Linked DNA regions of Homo sapiens: regions 1 and 2 are each linked to region 3. Evidence: promoter capture Hi-C in 16 types of primary human blood cells and fetal thymus (Javierre and others, 2016). All regions are on one chromosome and are shown on one strand. The core of a region is centred on a gene start or on the middle of the fragment in contact, and the rest is flanking DNA. Distances in the headings are between cores, read along the strand shown.

What was found. The method cuts DNA at HindIII sites, captures the fragments that hold promoters and counts their contacts. A CHiCAGO score of 5 or more calls a contact.
Region 1: the fragment with the promoter of CFAP418-AS1 here is called in contact with the fragment with the promoter of POP1 in region 3 in 1 of 17 cell types (M0 macrophages); the score reaches 5.4 in M0 macrophages.
Region 2: a fragment that was not itself captured here is called in contact with the fragment with the promoter of POP1 in region 3 in 1 of 17 cell types (neutrophils); the score reaches 6.8 in neutrophils.

What each region holds. Positions count from the first base shown.
Region 1 is chr8:95,267,434-95,270,133 of GRCh38, forward strand. It overlaps CFAP418-AS1 (CFAP418 antisense RNA 1), which reads left to right and starts at 1,403. Exons shown (of 4, transcript NR_038209.1): 1 at 1,403-1,457. It overlaps CFAP418 (cilia and flagella associated protein 418), which reads right to left and starts at 1,768. Exons shown (of 6, transcript NM_177965.4): 1 at 1,602-1,768. The coding sequence starts at 1,756. It overlaps TRS-AGA2-5 (tRNA-Ser (anticodon AGA) 2-5), which reads right to left and starts at 2,305; the gene lies at 2,224-2,305. RefSeq lists enhancers at 1,360-1,799, 1,754-2,393, 2,430-2,509. The HindIII fragment of the contact is 4,678 bases long and covers 1-2,700 here.
Region 2 is chr8:100,152,349-100,155,048 of GRCh38, forward strand. POLR2K (RNA polymerase II, I and III subunit K) reads left to right here. Exons shown (of 4, transcript NM_005034.4): 4 at 946-1,655. The coding sequence ends at 968. Among named protein-coding and RNA genes, the nearest start is that of POLR2K, 3.1 kb to the left of the region's middle. The HindIII fragment of the contact is 3,247 bases long and covers 1-2,700 here.
Region 3 is chr8:98,115,849-98,118,548 of GRCh38, forward strand. POP1 (POP1 ribonuclease P/MRP subunit) reads left to right here and starts at 1,445. Exons shown (of 16, transcript NM_001145860.2): 1 at 1,445-1,542. It overlaps RIDA (reactive intermediate imine deaminase A), which reads right to left and starts at 1,323. Exons shown (of 6, transcript NM_005836.3): 1 at 1,184-1,323. The coding sequence starts at 1,248. RefSeq lists enhancers at 1,428-1,477, 1,548-1,717. The HindIII fragment of the contact is 6,678 bases long and covers 1-2,700 here.

The DNA of each region.
Region 1 (2,700 bases), core at 153-2,652, 2.8 Mb before region 3:
TACCAGAAATACAAAAAATTAGCCAGGCGTGGTGGCGGGCGCCTGTAGTCTCAGCTACTCGGGAGGCTGAGGCAGGGGAATGGGAGGCGGAGCTTGCAGTGAGCTGAGGTGGGCCACTGCACTCCAGCCTGGGCGACAGAGCGAAACTCAAAAATAAATAAATAAGTAAATAAAATAAATAAATATCACTGGAGGTAAGCCAGGTGAACTGGATAGTAACAGAGTTGGATAATACTTTGGGAAATCACACATACACACACCAAAAAACCAAAACCAAACCAAAGATGCAGCAAAAAAATTAACGGAGATGACGTTCTTAGATTGATCCAAAGTTGCCTCCGTGTAATTTCACAAGCGTTTCCAAAATATTCTAGGCAAGAGGCAATTTCCAAAAGATTCTAGCAAGAGTTACTGAAGGTCAATATTCTTATGCAAACATTTTGTTTTTTTTTTTTGAGGGGTTGTGGGGGAAATGAGGAAGTGAAGGAAATCCTATTATTTAATAATTACATGGAGGAAAAACGACTGGTAAATTTGAAAGGTAGTTTTTAGATAAAAAACCAAAATACCTTAAGAAATGTCCTTAAATTTCCATATGTATGTCTGGCACCCTTAACTAGGGGGCCATGGAGAGAAGGAAGGTAGACGGTTTAATGTTCACAATAATTAACCCTTTTGTAATGAATTTAATCTCATCTTAACTCCCTGAGTTAAAAAAATAAAACAAACTGAGTCAGGTGCGATGGCTCGCAACTGTAATCCTAGCAGTTAGGGGAGGCAGAGGCGGGAGGACAGCTTGAACTCAGGAGTTCAAGACCAGCCTGGCCAACACAGTGAGACTGTCTCTACAAAAAATACAAATTAACCGGGCTCGTGCCTGTAATCCCAGTTTACGTAATCCCAGATTACAGGCTCGTGCCTGTAATCCCAGCTAGGGTAGGCCGAGGTGGGAGGATCTTTGAACCCGGGAGTTGGAGGCTGCAGTGAGCTACGATCGTGCCACTGCACTCCAACCTGGGCGACAGAGCGAGACTCCATCTCAAAAAACAAACAAAACAACAAAACTGAGCTAAAGACAAATAGGATTGACCTGGGGAGTGGGGTCTGAGGCAATGGGATGAGGCTGTCTAACAGGGCACCTCACAGGGAGATGAGAACCGCTTGGCCACACAGAGGCAAAATGCGGCCGAGGTCAGCACAGCCCTCTCGGGGTTAAGAACGGGGCGCCTGAGGGGTATCCCGGTCCCCGACTAGAACCTCCTACGCGCTGGCAGCCAGAAACAGGATGAAGGAGACTGGCGCGGACTGCGGGCTCTGCGGGCGGGGCGGGGCGGGGCGGGGCGGGGCGGGGCGGGGCGGGGGCCAGCCCTCTGGGGCATGCCGGGGGGCGGAGTCTGCGCTGAGTGAAGAGGTGCCAGAATCCGCGAAGAGGGTCGACGAATGCGCTGCCGCGGAGGGTAGGGCGCTGAGGGTCTGAACCCTGATGCAAGGAGGGGCTGGAGGTCGCGGGCACGTTTCTTTTGGGTTGGGCGGCGGAGGGGCAGCTCTAGGGCCTGGAGCAGGGCTTTACCAGAACAGTCCACCCCTCCCGCCCGGTTAACCTGAGCGTCTCTTTCGCCTTGGCTTGGTTCCGGTCGCTACTGTGGGTGCCGCCGCCGCAGCCTTTGGGCTGCTCGACCATACCCCGTCTTAGAAGGTCAGGTGTGCAAAACTTGGACTCGACTTCATCCAAGAGCTCGTCCAGGTCCTCCGCCATCTTGAATCGCCTGGCCTTTTCCCCTCCAATCGCCAAGGCTCCGGTGGTTTCCAGGAGTAACGAGGGGACCTGGCGGGCTCCTGCCCCGTTAGGCGTCCCCGCGCATGCGCACCGCTTCCCGTGGCAACCCGGCGCCCACGAGGGCTCGCGGCAGAGAACGCGGTGGGTTCGTGAGGGGCGGGCGTATGCAGGGACAGAGTTCGGAGCTGTCTCTGCAGTGTGTCTGTGTGACTCGCGATGCTTTGCGTTTCTTCCTTTCAGCATGTCTGGCGTGGTTCCTCCCGTCTCCCCCTCCCGGGCCCACGTTGTAACCACAAGCACGCATTCTCGCCCCTTCATTCTCTCCTCTCCCGTTTGGGTCCCTGTTGTGTTTCAGCCGTTTGTAAATTCCTGAAATCTGTGGAAGGTTTGAGCAGAACGCTCTAAAACACAAAAAGTAAGTGTTGACGGCAAAAAGCTGACATTCCCGTAGTCGGCAGGATTCGAACCTGCGCGGGGAGACCCCAATGGATTTCTAGTCCATCGCCTTAACCACTCGGCCACGACTACTGGCTGTGTGAATTTTTGCGGTGAGAGTGCATGTAGACTCTGCATAAGCGTCTGCTGCAGCAATAGGCACGTTTTGATGTGGAGGAAACCATTACTGAGCTGTTCTGTTAAGAGCATATTTGAATGTTACCTCGCTCATCATTTTACAGTTTGTAAAAGTCTTAGAACGTATCCCGTCCAACTCTTTGTTGGAAAAAACGGAAATTCTAATTAAATCCGAGAGAGAGAGAGAGAGAGACAGAGAGAGAGATGCGTGCTCAAAACTATTGCACACCCACTTGCTTGCACAATGTTGGAGCCATTTCCAGGAGAGAACCAGGAACCGGGTAGGGGCCAACCAGCTTCCCGACTTCCTTGTGGGGCTGCCAGTTCCACTCCTTCGCCTTTCTCTTTGA
Region 2 (2,700 bases), core at 169-2,668, 2.0 Mb after region 3:
AAAGGTACAGCAAAAATAGAGTATAATCTTATGCGACCACTGTTTATATGTGCTCCATCTTTGACCAAAACGTCATTATGGGTGCATGACTACATTTATATAAGTATTCATTCTTGAGCTTCAGTTTATGGACAAGCTAAAGTTCACGAGGAGAAATACAAATATTGTGTATACTACCTAATGGAAAAAGTTGGGCATACAAATTGTTCAAATACTGAGAGTAGGCCCAGCATGGTTGCTCACACCTATAATCCCAGCACTTTGGGAGGCTGCAGGAGTTCAAGACCAGCCTGGGCAACATAGTGTGACCCCCATGTGGAAAAATAAAATACAGAGTAAATTGTTATGATACAACTAACACACATTGTAAATCGACGGATTATCCGCTTTAACATTACTTTAGTGTTTTTTTTTGTTTGTTTTTTGTTTTTTTTTGAGACGGAGTCTCGCTCTGTCACCCAGGCTGGTGTGCAGTGACGCAATCTCGGCTCACATTGCAAGCTCTGCCTTCCGGGTTCATGGCATTCTCCTGCCTCAGCCTCCTGAGTAGCTGGGACTACAGGCACCCGCCACCATGCCCGGCTAATTTTTTTTATTTTTTAGTAAAGATGGGGTTTCACCATGTTAGCCAGGATGGTCTCGATCTCCTGACCTCGTGATCCGCCCACCTCAGCCTCCCAAAGTACTGGGATTACAGGCGTGAGCCACTGCGCCTGGCCTGCTTTAGTGTTTTTTGATACATTTTATGGAAAAGGTGGTAATAAAAATTGAAAGTGTTTTTAGTTTATTTAAAAACCAGTTGTCATAGTAAATAGTGAATTCCATTCTTTTTTGCATTTTAAGTTAAATAACAAACCAGCTTATTGCAAAGAGAAAGTGACTTTGAAACCTTCAGTCTTAATAATGTTTAAGTACCGTTTTTGTCCTTAACTCAAATTAATACAGTGGTCGTTTTTGATGCTCGATGAATGCTGGGAATTCAGAGGAATGTCTTCACTTATACTTGGATTTGCTCTCTTCCCATTTCTGATTGTTGTATAGCTTTCGATTTTGCTTACAGTAGTTCCCCCTTATCTTCGGGAGATACATTCCAAGGCCCCCAGTGAACTCCTGAAACCTCAAACAGTACCAAACCTTTATACACTGTTTTTTCCATATATATATACCTATGATAAAGTATAATGTATAAATTAAGCATAGCAAGAGATTAATAATAATGTAATAGAACAATGATAACATACTATAATAAAAGTTATGTGAATGTGGTTGGTCTCTCTTGCTTTCAAAATATCTTCTTGTACAGTACTCACCTATTTTAGAATGTGGTTGACTACAGGTAACCAAAACCACAGAAAGGGAAACTTTGGATGAGGGGGGCACTACTGTACTTAGGAATACAACTATATACATATGATTTTATTTTTAAGACCATATTATATTTGGGTATCTACTAATATTTTGTATAAAGCAATTTTTTGTTCCATTACGTGACTTTTTGTTTTATTGTATATGTAATTTAACACACAATAAAGGGTAAAGTTGCTTCCCCAAACCACACTTTTAATCAAAACCTAGAATCATCTGCAGTCCTTGTTAAAAATGCAGGTTTCTAGAACCCTCTGAAGTTCTGATTAAATAAATTTATTGCAAACCACTGTCCTGTGTCACTGTGTCATTTGATATGAAGTATACCATTGTGCTTGGTGTCAGTATGCATATGTCATCTTGAGTTCAGTTTTTCATTTATTACTAGGTATAGGCCTTTCTGTATTTTCATATAATGCTTGGTTCTCTTTTAAATCTCAGAATAATGAAGGGAAACTTTAATTGTTTTCTGTAAGGCAAAATCAACCCCAAGCAAAGTGAATGAAGCAGGCTGTTAAGCCAAGTGCAGTTTCCAAGGTGTAATCACTCATTAAGGTCAACAGTTCTGCTTTTAGGATATAAAAAGAACAGGCAGTGACTCGGGAGGCTGAGATGGGAGGATCACTTGAACCCAAGAGTTTGAGGCTGCAGTGAGCCATAATCATGCTGCTGCACTCCAGCCTGATGGACAGTGCAACACCCTGAGTCAAGGGCTGGGGAGGGGAGCGTTGGTTTACACTGAATTATTGGATAAATGTTTAAGTCTTCAGCCTTGATCTTTGGGATGTAGAATTAATGGTCACACTTATACGCTATTCTGTTCAAGGATTCCATGGTTGTGGAATGTCATGTTGGCCAGCCTGATGTGCATTTTAAAGATTAGATGTATTCCAACTTTATTAATAGTTATGTCTGTCTTTGACATTCAAAATATTGTCCATAATACTTTGTTAAAAAAAACCCTGCATTTTTACCACCATCTTCATATATTAAATTCTATAAATTTATTACATGCTATATGAAATACTTCCATGCTCAGATTTTTGTTTTGTTTTGTTTTTTTAAGACCGGGTCTCCCTCTGTTGTCCAGACTGGAGTGCAGTGGCATGATCATAGCTCACTACAGCCTCCATCTCCCAGGCTTACACAATCTTCTCACCTCAGCTTCCTGAATAGCTGGGACTGCAAGCACACACCACCATGCTGGCTGATTATTTTGATTTTTAGTAGAGATGAAGTCTCACTACATTGCCCAGGCTGGCAATGAAATTGAGCTTTCATAATTTTATAATTTTAGTATATTCCTTCTTGAACTTTTTAGATATGGGAGTCTCA
Region 3 (2,700 bases), core at 195-2,694:
TCCTTTTTCAATTAACTTGTTAAATAAAATGAAGTGAGCCATCTCAAAGAAATAGGTTAAGTAAATTATAAGTGATATACAGATTTGGCAAACAAACAAACAAAAAAGACAGAAGTAGCACTTGAATTATGAAAACTTTCTCCCCAAAATCTTTATACCATGCATTCTTCTACCTCCATGCCCTCACTCAAGCCATTCCCTCTACCTGACTTCTACCTCCATGCCCTTCACTCAATGACTTCCTGTTGAAATCCTTAATAAATTAATTTAAAAATCAAACTTTACAACACTACTATAAATGACAAAACCAACCTTCAAAACCAAAGGACTACCTCTCACAAGGAACCTTCCTAAATCTTCTTTTTCCTCTTCCACCCCAAGTTAAAATCAATTTGTCTTTTTTCTCCTTTACTCCCTACCCCACTTGCCCTCTCACTTCTACTGCATTTTATTTATTTCCAAGTTTTCTATAATAATTCCTGTTCTGCCACATCTCAGTGCCTTTTCTCACAGCAGTAGGTTTAAAGGAGGGAGCTGTTGATGGGGCTCTTTTCAGTTGGGAGAGAGGCAGACCAAGTATGAAGCTAATGAAAGAAGTTGGTCATAAAGGACTGCATGTTTTATGATTCAATTTATAGGAAATGTCCACAACAAGCAAATCCATGAAGATGCAAGTAGATTGTCAGGGGCCGGGGGAGAGGAGAATGGGGAGTGAATGCTAATGGGGATGGGATTTATTTTTGGGGTGATGAAAATGTTCTGAAGAAAGTGGTGATGGCTGCACAACTCTGTGAGTATGGTCAAAACCACTGAATTGTACATGTTAAAGGGGGTGAATCTTACGGTACGTGAATTATATCTCAATAAAGCTGTTACCAAGAAAACAAAAACGACCCCCTCCCCCAAAACAAAACACAGGGTCTGAAGGCTTCTAACTGGGGAGAGCTTTCTGGCAGGCTGTGCTCCGCAGCGAGGCAGCCCCAGAACGAGCAAAGTCCCATGGAGTGCAGGTTCCTGGTCCCATCGTGGCTCCCAACTCTCTGTGGGTCTTCGGGCGCGTTGCTTACTTTCCAGGCTCAATTTCCTTGCGTGTTAGCTGGGGCTCCGGCCCGGAGTGGCCCCAACCCCGAATCCCCGAACCCGCACGCCCTGGGTCCGACACAGCTTCCACCAGCCACGTTACCTGTAGGGTCCAATGGCCCCTGGGGCTTTCGCGGTGCTGATCACCCTTCTGATCAAGGACGACATGGCTAAGCCTTCCCTCTTGCAGCCCCTTCAGGAGAAGAAGCCCCAGCACCAGCCCTGCTGGCTTCTTACTGGACTGACCAACCACAGCAGCGCCTCTGCCCCACAGCTCCCGCTGGGGGCGGGCTCGTGCGGCATTCTGGGAACTGTAGTTTCGGCGACGCTCCAGGCCACGTGGAGGAAGCGCCCGGTCTGGCGCATGCGCTCTCCAGCGCGCTCTCCAGGAGCTTTGGCTCGGTGGGTACTGTCGCGGAGGCTTGTCATTCTGACCCGGGGATTCCTCACAGCGTCTGGCAGGTTGGTCGTGAGGGGCTGGTGCCTTCCAGGATGCGAGTGTCGGGGGAACTGTATGCGGCGGCCCCCCTCCCGGCGCCCGTCTCCCCTCTTCATCGTTTCTCTCTCAGACTCCGCTGACCTCTTTCCTTGCTGCCTGTGCCCGGGGCCCCTCTCCCTGGTGTCGCATCTCCTTCGGCCCCTGCGCTGGAGCCCCCTACGTCAGTCATTTCCCTTCATTGCCCCGCCGGGTGGAGGCCGTCCTGGGAATGGGCTTGCATCCCCTCTTCTGCAACCCCAAATGACTAATATGGGTCATTCTGGCGACCACGCTGAGATCTGGGCGTTGGTCCTCCCGTGTTCCCTTTCCTGCTCCTCCTGTGTTCCCTTCTCTAGGGTGCTCCTCGGGCTTTACAAGGTCACTGTCTGAACAGAGCCCTAGTGATTGGGATATCATTTCAGAAAGAAAGATGGTGATCTGGAATGGCCCAGATCCCTTGTAAGTATTCTGCTGTGTCAGAAGGGGTGGTACTTGGCTAAATATTTCTTATCCTGTTAATATTTGCATTGTAAGTACGCTTCGTTTCTTCATTTATGCGGGCACTCATAGATATATGAGTCCCTACTTTGTGTAAGGCACTCTGCTAGATGCTAGGAGGAATGCAACAGTTAAAAAAAATAATAATAAAATCTCTGCCTTCCCTGCTTCCTAAAGATAATACAAGAAAATCTGCTTTATTCCCTCTCATTTTGTCCTACATACTGCTAAGGTTTTGGCCTTCCTACTTCCGGCTCAGGAACCTTCTGATCTTTTTCATTGGTTTGGGGCCTGGAATAAAAGACCTTTCAGTCTGGCCTCCCCTTGCCTATTCAAGTTTCATTGTCATCTACTCCCTTTTCCCACTAGAGTCCTCCTGTATTCACACTGTGGATTCCTGAATACTCTTTCTTCCTTATCTGTGCAAATTCCAGCTAACTGAAATTCTATTTTCTCTTTGACTTTTCCTACCAATTCACATTTTTTTCTTTTTCTTCTTTCCTTCCTTTCCTTTTCTTTTTCTTTGTTTTCTTTCTTTCAAGACAGGATCTCACTCTGTCACCCTGGCTGGAGTACAGTGGCATGATCTTGGCTCACTGAAACCTTGACCTCCTGGGCTGAAGCAATCCTCCAGCCTGAGCATC